Linked DNA regions of Homo sapiens: all the other regions are linked to region 2. Evidence: promoter capture Hi-C in 16 types of primary human blood cells and fetal thymus (Javierre and others, 2016). All regions are on one chromosome and are shown on one strand. The core of a region is centred on a gene start or on the middle of the fragment in contact, and the rest is flanking DNA. Distances in the headings are between cores, read along the strand shown. Region 1 has its middle 22 kb from the start of EQTN. Region 2 holds the start of CAAP1 (caspase activity and apoptosis inhibitor 1). Region 3 overlaps MOB3B (MOB kinase activator 3B). Region 4 overlaps MOB3B (MOB kinase activator 3B).

The links. The method cuts DNA at HindIII sites, captures the fragments that hold promoters and counts their contacts. A CHiCAGO score of 5 or more calls a contact.
Region 1: a contact is called between a fragment that was not itself captured here and the fragment with the promoter of CAAP1 in region 2, in 7 of 17 cell types (total CD4 T cells, megakaryocytes, naive CD8 T cells and 4 more). The highest score is 8.4, in total CD4 T cells.
Region 3: a contact is called between a fragment that was not itself captured here and the fragment with the promoter of CAAP1 in region 2, in 1 of 17 cell types (total B cells). The highest score is 5.1, in total B cells.
Region 4: a contact is called between a fragment that was not itself captured here and the fragment with the promoter of CAAP1 in region 2, in 1 of 17 cell types (total B cells). The highest score is 5.9, in total B cells.

What each region holds. Positions count from the first base shown.
Region 1 is chr9:27,274,096-27,276,795 of GRCh38, reverse strand. It overlaps the pseudogene REXO6P. Among named protein-coding and RNA genes, the nearest start is that of EQTN, 22 kb to the left of the region's middle. The HindIII fragment of the contact is 2,624 bases long and covers 98-2,700 here.
Region 2 is chr9:26,891,483-26,894,222 of GRCh38, reverse strand. It overlaps CAAP1 (caspase activity and apoptosis inhibitor 1), which reads left to right and starts at 1,421. Exons shown (of 6, transcript NM_024828.4): 1 at 1,421-1,810. The coding sequence starts at 1,508. RefSeq lists enhancers at 1,192-1,261, 863-1,442, 1,392-1,611, 1,692-1,871, 1,443-2,022. The HindIII fragment of the contact is 2,677 bases long and covers 957-2,740 here.
Region 3 is chr9:27,325,691-27,328,390 of GRCh38, reverse strand. MOB3B (MOB kinase activator 3B) reads left to right here. Exons shown (of 4, transcript NM_024761.5): 4 at 1-2,700. Among named protein-coding and RNA genes, the nearest start is that of EQTN, 30 kb to the right of the region's middle. The HindIII fragment of the contact is 2,910 bases long and covers 1-2,700 here.
Region 4 is chr9:27,367,521-27,370,220 of GRCh38, reverse strand. The region is part of intron 2 of MOB3B (MOB kinase activator 3B); the gene reads left to right. Among named protein-coding and RNA genes, the nearest start is that of EQTN, 72 kb to the right of the region's middle. RefSeq lists enhancers at 1-386, 387-1,140, 2,658-2,700. The HindIII fragment of the contact is 1,036 bases long and covers 777-1,812 here.

The DNA.
Region 1 (2,700 bases), core at 160-2,659, 380 kb before region 2:
TATTACAAAAACACATCTGGACCAAAAAAGAGAATTGCACACTCTGGCAAATTTGATGTGAATTATTTAGTTCCTCATCTCCCCGCTGCTCAAAGCTTTATATAAAGTGCATACCTTGTTATTTCCAGTTTTATTATTCTAGGACTATTTATCCTTTTGTCCACTAGGGGGCACAATTTACTGGCAGTCGGTACATTGATTCCTGCTTGTTAGCATTTTCCTGTCCGTTTCCCCACCCCACCCACAGATCTAACATTTTCATTGAAAGCAGGTATATTATCATTGGGTAGCCTCTTAACCATAAATTTTAAAAGTCGATCCTCATTATTCACAGATTCCAAATTTGCGAATTCACCTACTCAGTAAAATTGACGTGTAACCTTAAAATCAAGACTTGCTGTGCTTATGAGATCATTCACAGACAACGCAGAGTGGCAAAAAATTTGAATTGCCTGACATGCACATTCCCAGTTAAGGCTGAAGAAGGTGATAGCCTTCTTGTTTAAGCTCACATAATGTAAAATGTCCTTTTGCAGTCCGTTTAGTGCCAGGTTTTTTTGTATCTGTGTGCTTTTTGTTGGTGATTTTGTGCTGAAAATTGCCGCTCATTGTAGTGCTGTCTAGTGCTCCTAAGCATAAAAAGAATGTGATGTGCCTTACAGAGAAAATATGTGCTAGATAAACTTTGTTCAGGCATGAGTTTTAGTGCTGTTGGCCACGAGGGTATTAAATGAGATGTCTGTAAACATGACACATATGTAAAGCAAGGTGATACTTTGATTGACCAAAAAAAAAAATGTGACCAGAGACTTACCTGAACCTAACCCCATGTTTGTTTGTTTTAGGAGCAGTGGATTCAGTGTTCACTAAATCTGAGTTTGTGGTGACTTACAGAGTATAACTACCTGAAATAACAAGAATCGACTTTAGTTTTCAAAATAATTATAAACTTTTGTAATTTATAAGTGCTGAAGTTCTTTTATGACATAAAAAAGAAATTGAAGAAGCAGTTCAGTGAGTAGTATTCCTTTAACATTTTTGTGTTTAAAAAAGTGATATTTAGGCCAGGCGTCATATATCATGCCTGTAATCCCAGCACTTTGGGAGGCCGAGGCAGGTGGATCACGAGGTCAGGAGATGGAGACCCTCCCGGCCAACATGGTGAAACCCTGTCTCTACTAAAAATACAAAAATTAGCTGGGTGTGGTGGCGCATGCCTGTAATCCCAGCTACTCTGGAGGCTGAGGCAGGAGAATCGCTTGAACCAGGGAGTCGGAGGTTGCAGTGAGCCGACATCGCACCACTGTACTCCAGCCTGGCAACAGAGTGAGACTCCGTCTCAAAAAAAAAAAAAAAAAAAAAAAAAAAAGATATTTAATAAACTTTCTGCATGGCAGAGTCTATACTTCCAAATCACAAATGAAAACCTGAATTTCAGTTCTTCATAGAATAGTTGGGTGTCCTTGGGCAAGTTATTTAATTTTTCTGAGCTTCAGTTTCCTTATCTATGAAAGGAAAATTGAGTGCCTACCCCAGGGTCAAATATATAAGTACTTAATAAATGCTAGTTACCTTCCTCTTATTTCTTACAAAGTTTTTTTGGTGGCTAACATTATTTCCCTTTAACTGCAAATGTTGTGGTGTTTATAGTTTTAATTTTATTGTGCTATGTAAAAAAAAAAAAAAAAAAGCCAGGTGTGATGGCGCGTGCCTGTAGTCCCACCTACTCCCTGTTACCCCCTCCCCAATTCTTGTATATAAATAGTTTTTGGCTTTGTAAATAACTGTCCTTAAAATTCTCACAAGTTGAAATAATTGGACTAAAGATAAAGAATTTTAAGATTTTTAAAGCATTCTTTAAAAATCTTATTGTCACTGTATTGCCTTCCAGAAGGGTTTTCACAATTTATAGTCCTTCTCAATGTTTCAGAGTTCTCTTCCCACAAACCCTTACCTACGATGCACATTATAATTTTTTAAAGCCTGCAAATCTGGTTAAAATTTTATTGCCTTATCTTATATTACATTTCTTTAATTATTAGTGAAGCTAAACATTCTTTCCCATGTTCCATTCTCTTATAACAAATGTTGCTGTGGAGAAGTCTGCTTGCCTGCTATTTCACCCTTTGAGTCGTGTGATACTTTTGTCTGCCTATCCAAAGGATTCTTCCTTTAATTCTGAAGTCCAATAACTTTAGTAGATATGTCTTATTAGCTATTCTATTTTTTCTGTCTACATACAAAGTATCACTTTTGTATGAAATTTAATTTTTTAGTTAAAACTTTCTTAAATTATGTTTCAGTAGTTGTTCAGTTTTATTATTTCCTTATTTCTGGGGATACTCCAACTATGCATGCATTGGATCACAATCAGCGTTACAAATGTGGTCAATTTACTGTGTGGCTGGCTGTAAGGCCCCCAACGAGCTTCTATGATAGAAGAAAGGCAAAATTATCAATTTTATCAATTTTTCATCATTTTCATTTGTTTTATGTTGCTGCCCTATAGGCCTCAACCAATAAAGAGGTCATTAGACCATTCAGGGTACCAGTCCCACTGCTAACAAGCCCCACTGGAATCATTCGGGCCCAGCAAAGCAGTACAGATAAAGGCTGCCATAAAGAATGGGAAGGCTTTTATTGATGCCACTTCAGAACAGAAGAAAAATGCATCTACATGTCCAGCCTCTCAGAGCCAAA
Region 2 (2,740 bases), core at 172-2,671:
CTATAAGGAAGTGGGCTATAGGAAAAGTTGGTTAACGTTTAGCTATGCTTCTACTAAAAGCTTATCTTTTGTCACAAATCCAGCAATTTGGCAGGGCACGATGGCTCACGCCTGTAATCCCAGCACTTTGGGAGGCTGAGGCGGGTGGATCACCTGAGGTCGGGAGTTCGAGACCAGCCTGACCAACATGGAGAAACCCCTTGTCTACTAAAAATACAAAATTAGCCCTGCATGGTGGCGCATGCCTGTAGTCCCAGCTACTCAGGAGGCTGAGGCAGGAGAAATGCTTGAACCCGGGAGGCGGAGGTTGCAGTGAGCCGAGATTGTGCCATTGCACTCCAGCCTGGGCAACGAGAGTGAAACTCCGTCTCAAAAAAAAAAAAAAGAAAAAAGAAAAAATCTAGCAATTTAGTTTTATTAAAATTATGATGGTTTCAGGGACACAATTCATAACAGGTTTATAAATGTAACATGTTATTAATTTTATGTGTTTTTCCTATCTGTGAACACAACACTCTCAATCCTTTCAGGTATGACTCCAATGAGTGTGATACTTAACGGAACTCCTGGGAACACAGTGGGCTCAGCCCCAGGATTTACCTTACAAGGCCAATTTAAGAGTGGGGCCTGGGGGAAGACAGTTTTCCTAGGGCTGGAAGTGTCCCTATTTATTAACCCTAGGCTGGTTTTAGGCATTTAAGTAGTTGTTGAATGACTGAGACAAATAGGAGACAAAGAGAAGGGAAGCTTCTTTAATTGCTTCTTACCCCAGGGAAAGGCACAGAATTACTACCACCCAGCTAGCTTTGCCCCAGGCTCTACCTTTTTCCCTCAGTGGCTAAAGGCCCCTGCTGAAACGACAAAGACCTTGGTTCACGTTTTAAGTGTTCTAGCTCCCTTGTCTTAAAATCTGCCTTCTATTTAGATTACATCCACCCATAAAATCTCATAAAGCTTTGACCCATTCTCAATTTTCAAAAACGAACTCAAGCTCTACTTGTCCATGTCAGACTCTACGCAAGAAATACCTAATTTGCCCAGGTGATGAGGAAAATGAGATGGAACAACTTTTCCCTATTCTCTTTATTGTCATAGCGTTGTTAATATCTTAAGATTTGGAGGTAAACGGAAATGGAGAATCAGCAACTATACTTCAACCTTATTGTAAACAGACAAAACACTAACAATAAAAAGTTTTGAAGTTAAAAGGACGTAAGTTCCACCTTCTATCCTTTGTAGAGATATAAAAACAAAACAAAACAAACTCTGACTAGACAGGCTACCCGCTACACACTCAAATCGACCTCCGCGACCGGAGGGGGAAGCGCAACTGGTTATGGCAACCCCCCTGCCACCCCGGCCCATAACGCTTCACCACGTTCTGTGCCACGGCCGGAAGTGACGCATAACCTGCGACGCCAGTGCCTGCCGCCCACGGCCGCAGGAGTCGGGCTTCGGTCGCACCAGAGACAGCGGACTTTCCTCCGATGGTTGCAGCAGAGGGATCATGACGGGGAAAAAGTCCTCCCGGGAGAAACGGCGCAAACGTAGCAGTCAGGAGGCGGCCGCAGCGCTCGCGGCCCCGGACATCGTACCCGCGTTGGCCAGCGGCAGCAGTGGAAGCACTAGCGGCTGCGGGAGCGCCGGGGGCTGCGGGAGCGTCAGCTGCTGTGGGAACGCCAATTTTAGTGGAAGTGTCACCGGCGGTGGGAGCGGCGGCAGCTGTTGGGGCGGGAGCAGCGTGGAGCGCAGCGAGCGCCGGAAGCGGAGGAGTACCGACTCTTCCAGCGTCTCGGGCTCCTTGCAGCAGGTGCGTGCGCGCCCCTCTGGCCGCTTCCTGGAGCTGCTGCTTTTTCGGAAGAAGTCGGGCTTCCAGAGGGATGGGGCGCAGGCTGGAGCTCACTGCTAGCGCGGCAATCTCAAGGTCGTCCGTCCTTGAGGTTCATGTTCCTACCTAAGTCCTGGTGAGCCCCACACTCCCATCCGTGTCTTGAATCTTGAACTTCAAGTTTCTGGATTTCCTGATCACTTTTTTTTTAATTTATTTTTTAAACTCTTGGCTCCTTCCACTCCTATGGTTTCACTCTGCCGGAAGAATACGAGTTGGAAGCTAGCCTTCATTTCCCTTGCGAGCCAAACACTTCTCCCTTCGTCTTCACCTTTTCGTAGATATGGTTAACTCCGCATTAGAGATAAGAAAATTGAGGCCCAAAGAAGTTAAACTTTACCCACGGTCACAGAGTTTGTTAATAGCTCCTAGGTTTGAATCCAAATATCTGACTACAAAAGCCATGTTCTTTATACGCCACCAGTCTGCCAAGAGAACGCCGTTTTAAAAAAGTTCATAATTTGTTTGAAAACAAATGAATGAATAGGTACTTTAAATTCATTCAATGAGGAAATAAAGGGAAAGCGTCAAGTCCCTTTTCTTGCCCCTCCATTAGTATTTTGATACGCGGCCTCTTTTAATCACTCCTCGTGAGATACGTGTTTTTAAGTTCCTACACTTAAGCTGTATTGTGTTATTCCCGCTGTTGAATACCTGCATTGTTGTGATAGGCTTCTTTATATACGTGGTTTGTTATTTTTACTGACTGCCTGGTATTGTATTATATTTTTCTGATATTTGGGTGTGCAGGTTTTTTTGTATTGTTGTGACTACAATACAAACACCTTTATGTATATATCTCCTACAAGAGTTATGTTGGGAGAGAGTGTGAGAACTGAAATTCCTGGGTCA
Region 3 (2,700 bases), core at 116-2,615, 430 kb before region 2:
TAATCACAGAATATTCCTGTTCCCACAGAACTTTGGCACATTCTGAAGAAAATCTCTGCAGTCAATTTTTATCTCCTCTGCTTGACTGCATCTAACTGTTCATCTCTGTTATAAATGGAGCTTCAGCCCTCTGGGTCAGAGACTGACAACCCTCCTTCTTCTTCCTAACCTGTCCTACTCTCCTTCTTTTTCTGCTTTCATTTTAATTTTGGGAAATTTTAAAGTAAAAGTTTCAAAGTTGAAAGATTATAGTGAGTACCCTTATGTCCTTTAGTGCATCAGTTGTTAATGTTTTGCCTTGTTTTCTTTTCTTCCTTTTTTTTTTTTAAGAGAAGGGGTCTCTCCCTATTTTACCCAAGCTGGCCTTGAACCCCTTGCCTCAAGTGAGCTTCAACCTTAGCCTCCTGAGTAGCCAGGACTATGGCATGTACCACCGCACCTGCCTCACATTTTCTTTCTCACTGTAAATACACATTCTTATTCTTGAACCTTCTGAAAATAAGTTGCAGACATCATGAAAATGTAAAATACTTCATCATATTCTTTCTTTTAATAAGAGCATTGTCCTATAAATCTGCAATATTTTCACGCCCATGAAACTGAACACTGATACTGCATAAATCTAATATATGATCCATATTCAAAATTCTCCAGTTGTCCCCAAAATATCCTTTATAGCTGTTTATTTTTAAATCCAGGATCCAATCAAGAATTATACGTTATATGTAGTTGTCATTCTCTTTTGTTTCCTTTAATTGATTAGAGTTGCCCTTTTGTGTGTGTCTGAGTGGTGGGTGGTGGGGTGGTGTTTGTGTATGATGTGCAGTGTGTGTGTGTGTGGTGTGTCTTTCATGACACTGACATTATTAAAGAGTTCAGGCAAGTTTGTGGAATGTCCCACAATCTAGACTTTTTTACTGATTGTTTCCTCATTACGAGATACAGGTTACATTTTTTTTCCCAAGACTGCTACATGTGTGATGTTGTTTCCTTACTACTGCCTCACCTCAGGAAGCACATAATGTCTACTTGTCTCTTTTCTGATATTAGGACTGATCAGGTGTTGTCTGCCTGATCCAATCATTATCAAGTTCCATAATTCATTATTAAGCTCTGAAATTCAGGACACATACATTTATAGAGTGTGAGGCTGTGCATACGTACATTCATCCCTTAATGTTCTCAAGGAGGCCCAGGATCCCCAAAATATTATAAGCATTGCAGTCAGATGATATAGCACTAGCAAAGCATTCATCCCTTTCCATATAACAGGAGGGAGGGGAAGAAGGAAGTTTCCATGTGCAGGCAATACGTGAGAGCATGGGCAAGTGAGGATTTGTATGCTCCCTGTAGCCAGAGGTGAAATATTCAACGCTTTTATTTTTTCTCCCGTCTTCAATGACCTCCCATTTGGACCCATAGTTTATTTATAGAGAGCACACACTCCCTAATTGTCAGATGGTTTTTTTGGGAAAACTCTTAGATAGTACAGTGAGTTGTGACCCTCCAAAGGATCACAAGTACATAAACAGATACAAAGTATTTATGTGGTATTAAAATTTCATGGTGATGGTGCAAGGGAGAGATGATTAGGAAGAAAATGTCTTACACGGCTGTAATTGAGAAATACTGATCTAGAGTCATTTCCTGCTTCTTAAATTGTTCGTTTTCTCTTCCCTGGGTATTTTCTCATTTCCAAAGACCCAGAGTCTCAGAGCCAGGTTAAGTGGAAGAAACTTTGAGAGGTTTCTTAATCAATTCCTTCTATCTCTCAAACCATGCCAGTAACTTCCTTGGTGAAAAAATCTATACTCCTCTCACAGTTCTTCGGGCATGGAAATTCTATAGCATTCTTTGGTATAACCAACCCACTGAACCCTCCACAACATCTTGAATTCCATTCAACTCGAGCTGAAGTATTCTTTTTGAGTTTCAGTATATCTTTTCTAGTGTCCCACTTTTAGAAAGGTCCAAAGATGATATATAATAAGTGAAAATACAATTAATCAGAGCTTTATTTGCATATCCATTAAATATCTGAAGGCTATTACCAGTTGTGCTTCAGCCTCCTTTCCCTTGCAATTCTCCCAGGGTGGCATCCTCTACGGAGTCTTGTTGCTCCATTGTTGACCACTGATGTAACTCAACGTGAAACCTTCCCAAAGCTCTCCACATCACTCTCTGTTATGGCTGTGACCAGCAGTGAACATGAAAAGAACTTATTTCATGCCTTCTCCAAACTATATTGTTTCTTTGCTAAGTCCAGACCTGCTTTTTCTACATTTATAGGTTTTCTATTTTAATCGCCATGCAAAATTCTTTATCATACTCAATCATTTTGGTTTATCTTCCTGACTTCTTACCTTTAACATCCCTGTTAAAGATTACACTGTTGTTGTTTCAAAAAAAAAAAAAAAAAAACCTTAATTGGCAAAACATTAAGGGACTTGAATAGAATTACACTTATCTTTTTGTGCTGATTTATGTCAATCCATCATTCTGGTTATTGATGGAAGCAAATTGCTTCCTATGTTCTCTAAACCTTATGTCCCTTCCATACTCCATGAGTACCACACTGGGAGAAAACAAAAGCAAAAAGATTGTGGGAAAAGTATAGCCATTATCTTTGAGGAAATGTGTACCAAGGCACAATCATTAAAAGGAGTTGGAGGCATCATTTGGTTGACACTGTTGTCATTC
Region 4 (2,700 bases), core at 45-2,544, 480 kb before region 2:
CTCCTTTTTAAAGGCACTAATCCCATTCATGGGGTGTCTGCCTTCATGACCTAATCACCTCCCAAAGGCCCCACCTCCTAGTACCATCAGCCTGGGAATTAGGATTTCAACACGTGCATTTGAGGGGGGCATAAGCATTCAATCCGTTGCATTCAATAATTACATATGGAGAACCACCGTGTTCTGCTATGCATTCGATGCCAGGGCTATGACTATGAACAAGAAAGATCCCTGACATTACACAATTTTCAGTCTCCTGGGAGACAAAAAAAAAAAAAAAAAAAGGACAATTAAAAGTTGATGTGGTAGTATTGTCATGGAAGAAGCAGCGGGTGTTATGATATGCCTACCTAGACTGAGGGTGAGGTGGCCAGGGAGGACGTTCTAGAGGAAGTGACAAATTAGTTAAGGTTTGAATAACAAATGGGAGTTAGTCAGGCGAAATGGAGAAGCTGAGGAAGAGGTTTCCAGCTACCAACCCTCCAGTATGTAGCAACGCCCAGAAGCAAGTGAGAAAGAGGATCGTAGCTTCAGATGGCTGGAGTATTACATGCAAGTTGGGAGAATCCAGAAATGATGGTGGACCACTGCATGTGTGAAATCATAAAGGGTCTTGCCTGCATGTTAAATAGCTTTGATTTCACCTTGGAAGCAGTAGGAGGCTGCTTTAGAGTTTTATGCAGAAAAACAGGCTTCCTGGTTAGATTTGCGTATTGGGAAGGTCCTTCACCTGCCAAGTGGAGATTGAAGAAATGCAGGAGTAAAGAAAGGAAGCTTAGTTACAAGGGACCTGCATAAACTAGGCAGGAGGTGAGCTAGGAAGGAGGCAGTGGGGCTGAAGAGAAATTTAGAGATCAGCAACTGTTCAAGACAAGACTTGGTGTTAATTGTCCCCACATAATGGAAGAAAGATTCTACTGGGGAATAAAGAATAGTTTTATTTGTGAGGATACTCACAATATTACATCCATGACAAAGAACCTGGCTTTCAAATTCTGGTTGGGGCTCATGAAAAAAACCAGAAGGTGTGGTAGTCCTAGACCTATATTCCTGATCAAACTCCTGGTACCTCAGCCTGACTTTCCAGAACCAATGAAGTTCATTAACATCCTGTTCTCAGCTCTGGCTCATTTGTCCCATTTGATTTTCAGCAAACTGGTCAGGTTTACACGGTCTAGGGTTTGTTTCTAATGGCTTTTATTGTCAATCCACAGTGAATATCTTTCACGGGTTATCTTGGGTCTTTCTTAATCTACTGCTCCTTTCACATCCATGCTGTGAAAGCAGGGGACAAAGGCAGCCATCTGGGAGCTGGGGATGCTGATGAGCAACTCAGAAGTGGCGCTCAGGGGTAGGAGGAGGTGTGACGAGCAGGCACGCTGGACTCATGGTTGCTCCTTGGGGTGGCTGAAACAGCACTTCCTATGCCCAGCACATGGCATGTCTGAAAGAATTAAGACTCTCTTGAGAACATATAATCACATACCACTGTTTGTCTTTCTTTTGGCCCAACCACCATGATAACAGACTGGAGGACAGCACAAAGGGGCTGGGGAGGGGCAGAGGGAGGGAGTTGGAAAACAGAGTAGTAGCCAGTTTATTTCTAAGCATTTGCAGCTGTCAGCTTGTTTGGGGACTTTGTTTTCTCTTTTTTTAGGCAGAGGAACAAAGTCCTGCTACACAGGATTGTTTTCCTTGGCATGACGAACAGACACTTTCTTGAGGAACGTACTGAGATAACACAAAACATCTGCTAAGAGGAATCAATCCTCGCAGCTGAATTTTCATCAGCATCAGCAAGAACACGAAGCTTCTCTCTCTCTCCCTCTCTGTATGTGTGTGTGTGTGTGTGTGTGTGTGTGTGTGTATGTATGTGTGTGTATATATATGTATATGTATGTATATATATAGACAGAGAGCAGGAGGCAGGAGAATGGATGGATGAAGGGGCAAGAGAATAAGCTAAGAGGAGGAGGATATATATTATTAAGAAACATCTGTGTTGTTCATGTGTTTTGTTTTGTTTTGTTTTGTTTTTGCCTTGTGATCCGATTGCATCTTGTTTTGCAAGTATTTTGGAAATGGTGTGTTCTCAGCCACGCTGCCAGAGGAGGTATGTTTTCTTTTTCCACGTGTGTGGGATGTTGTTTTTATTCATGAACTATTGAGAATGAGTGGTTTTTATGACTTGTAGAGGGATTTTCACATCCCTCTTATTACTGGACTCTGAAGACAGAAGGGACAGCACAAATGCCCTCAGACATGAATAACAGTTTCAAGGAGAAACATGGGCACTTCTGGTTGTTGTTGACATGCCATCAGGGGTCCCAAAGGATTGGCCAGGAAATCAGGTTTCATCATATGTCCTTTGGAAGCTCCTTGGACAGTTCACATGCTCTTCCAATATATGACATGTCTTCCAAGTATACTTTCCAAGAAGAGTTTATCCTTTGGAGAAGAGGCAGCTTCACCTGTCCTGTTTCATTTGCCCTCCTGCCACCCCTGTCTTGGCATTGATTCAGAAGAGCCGTCTTCCTAGCGTTGGTAACATCGGCTGCCATTTGCCAGATGCCTTCTGTGTGCCTGCTGGTGCTGTGCTTCTCATTTAGTCCTTGTGGTCTCATGAAGAGCTAGGTATTATTATCACCATTCCTCAGACAAGAAAACAGAGGCTTTTGGCAGTTAGCAAAGTTGCTTAAG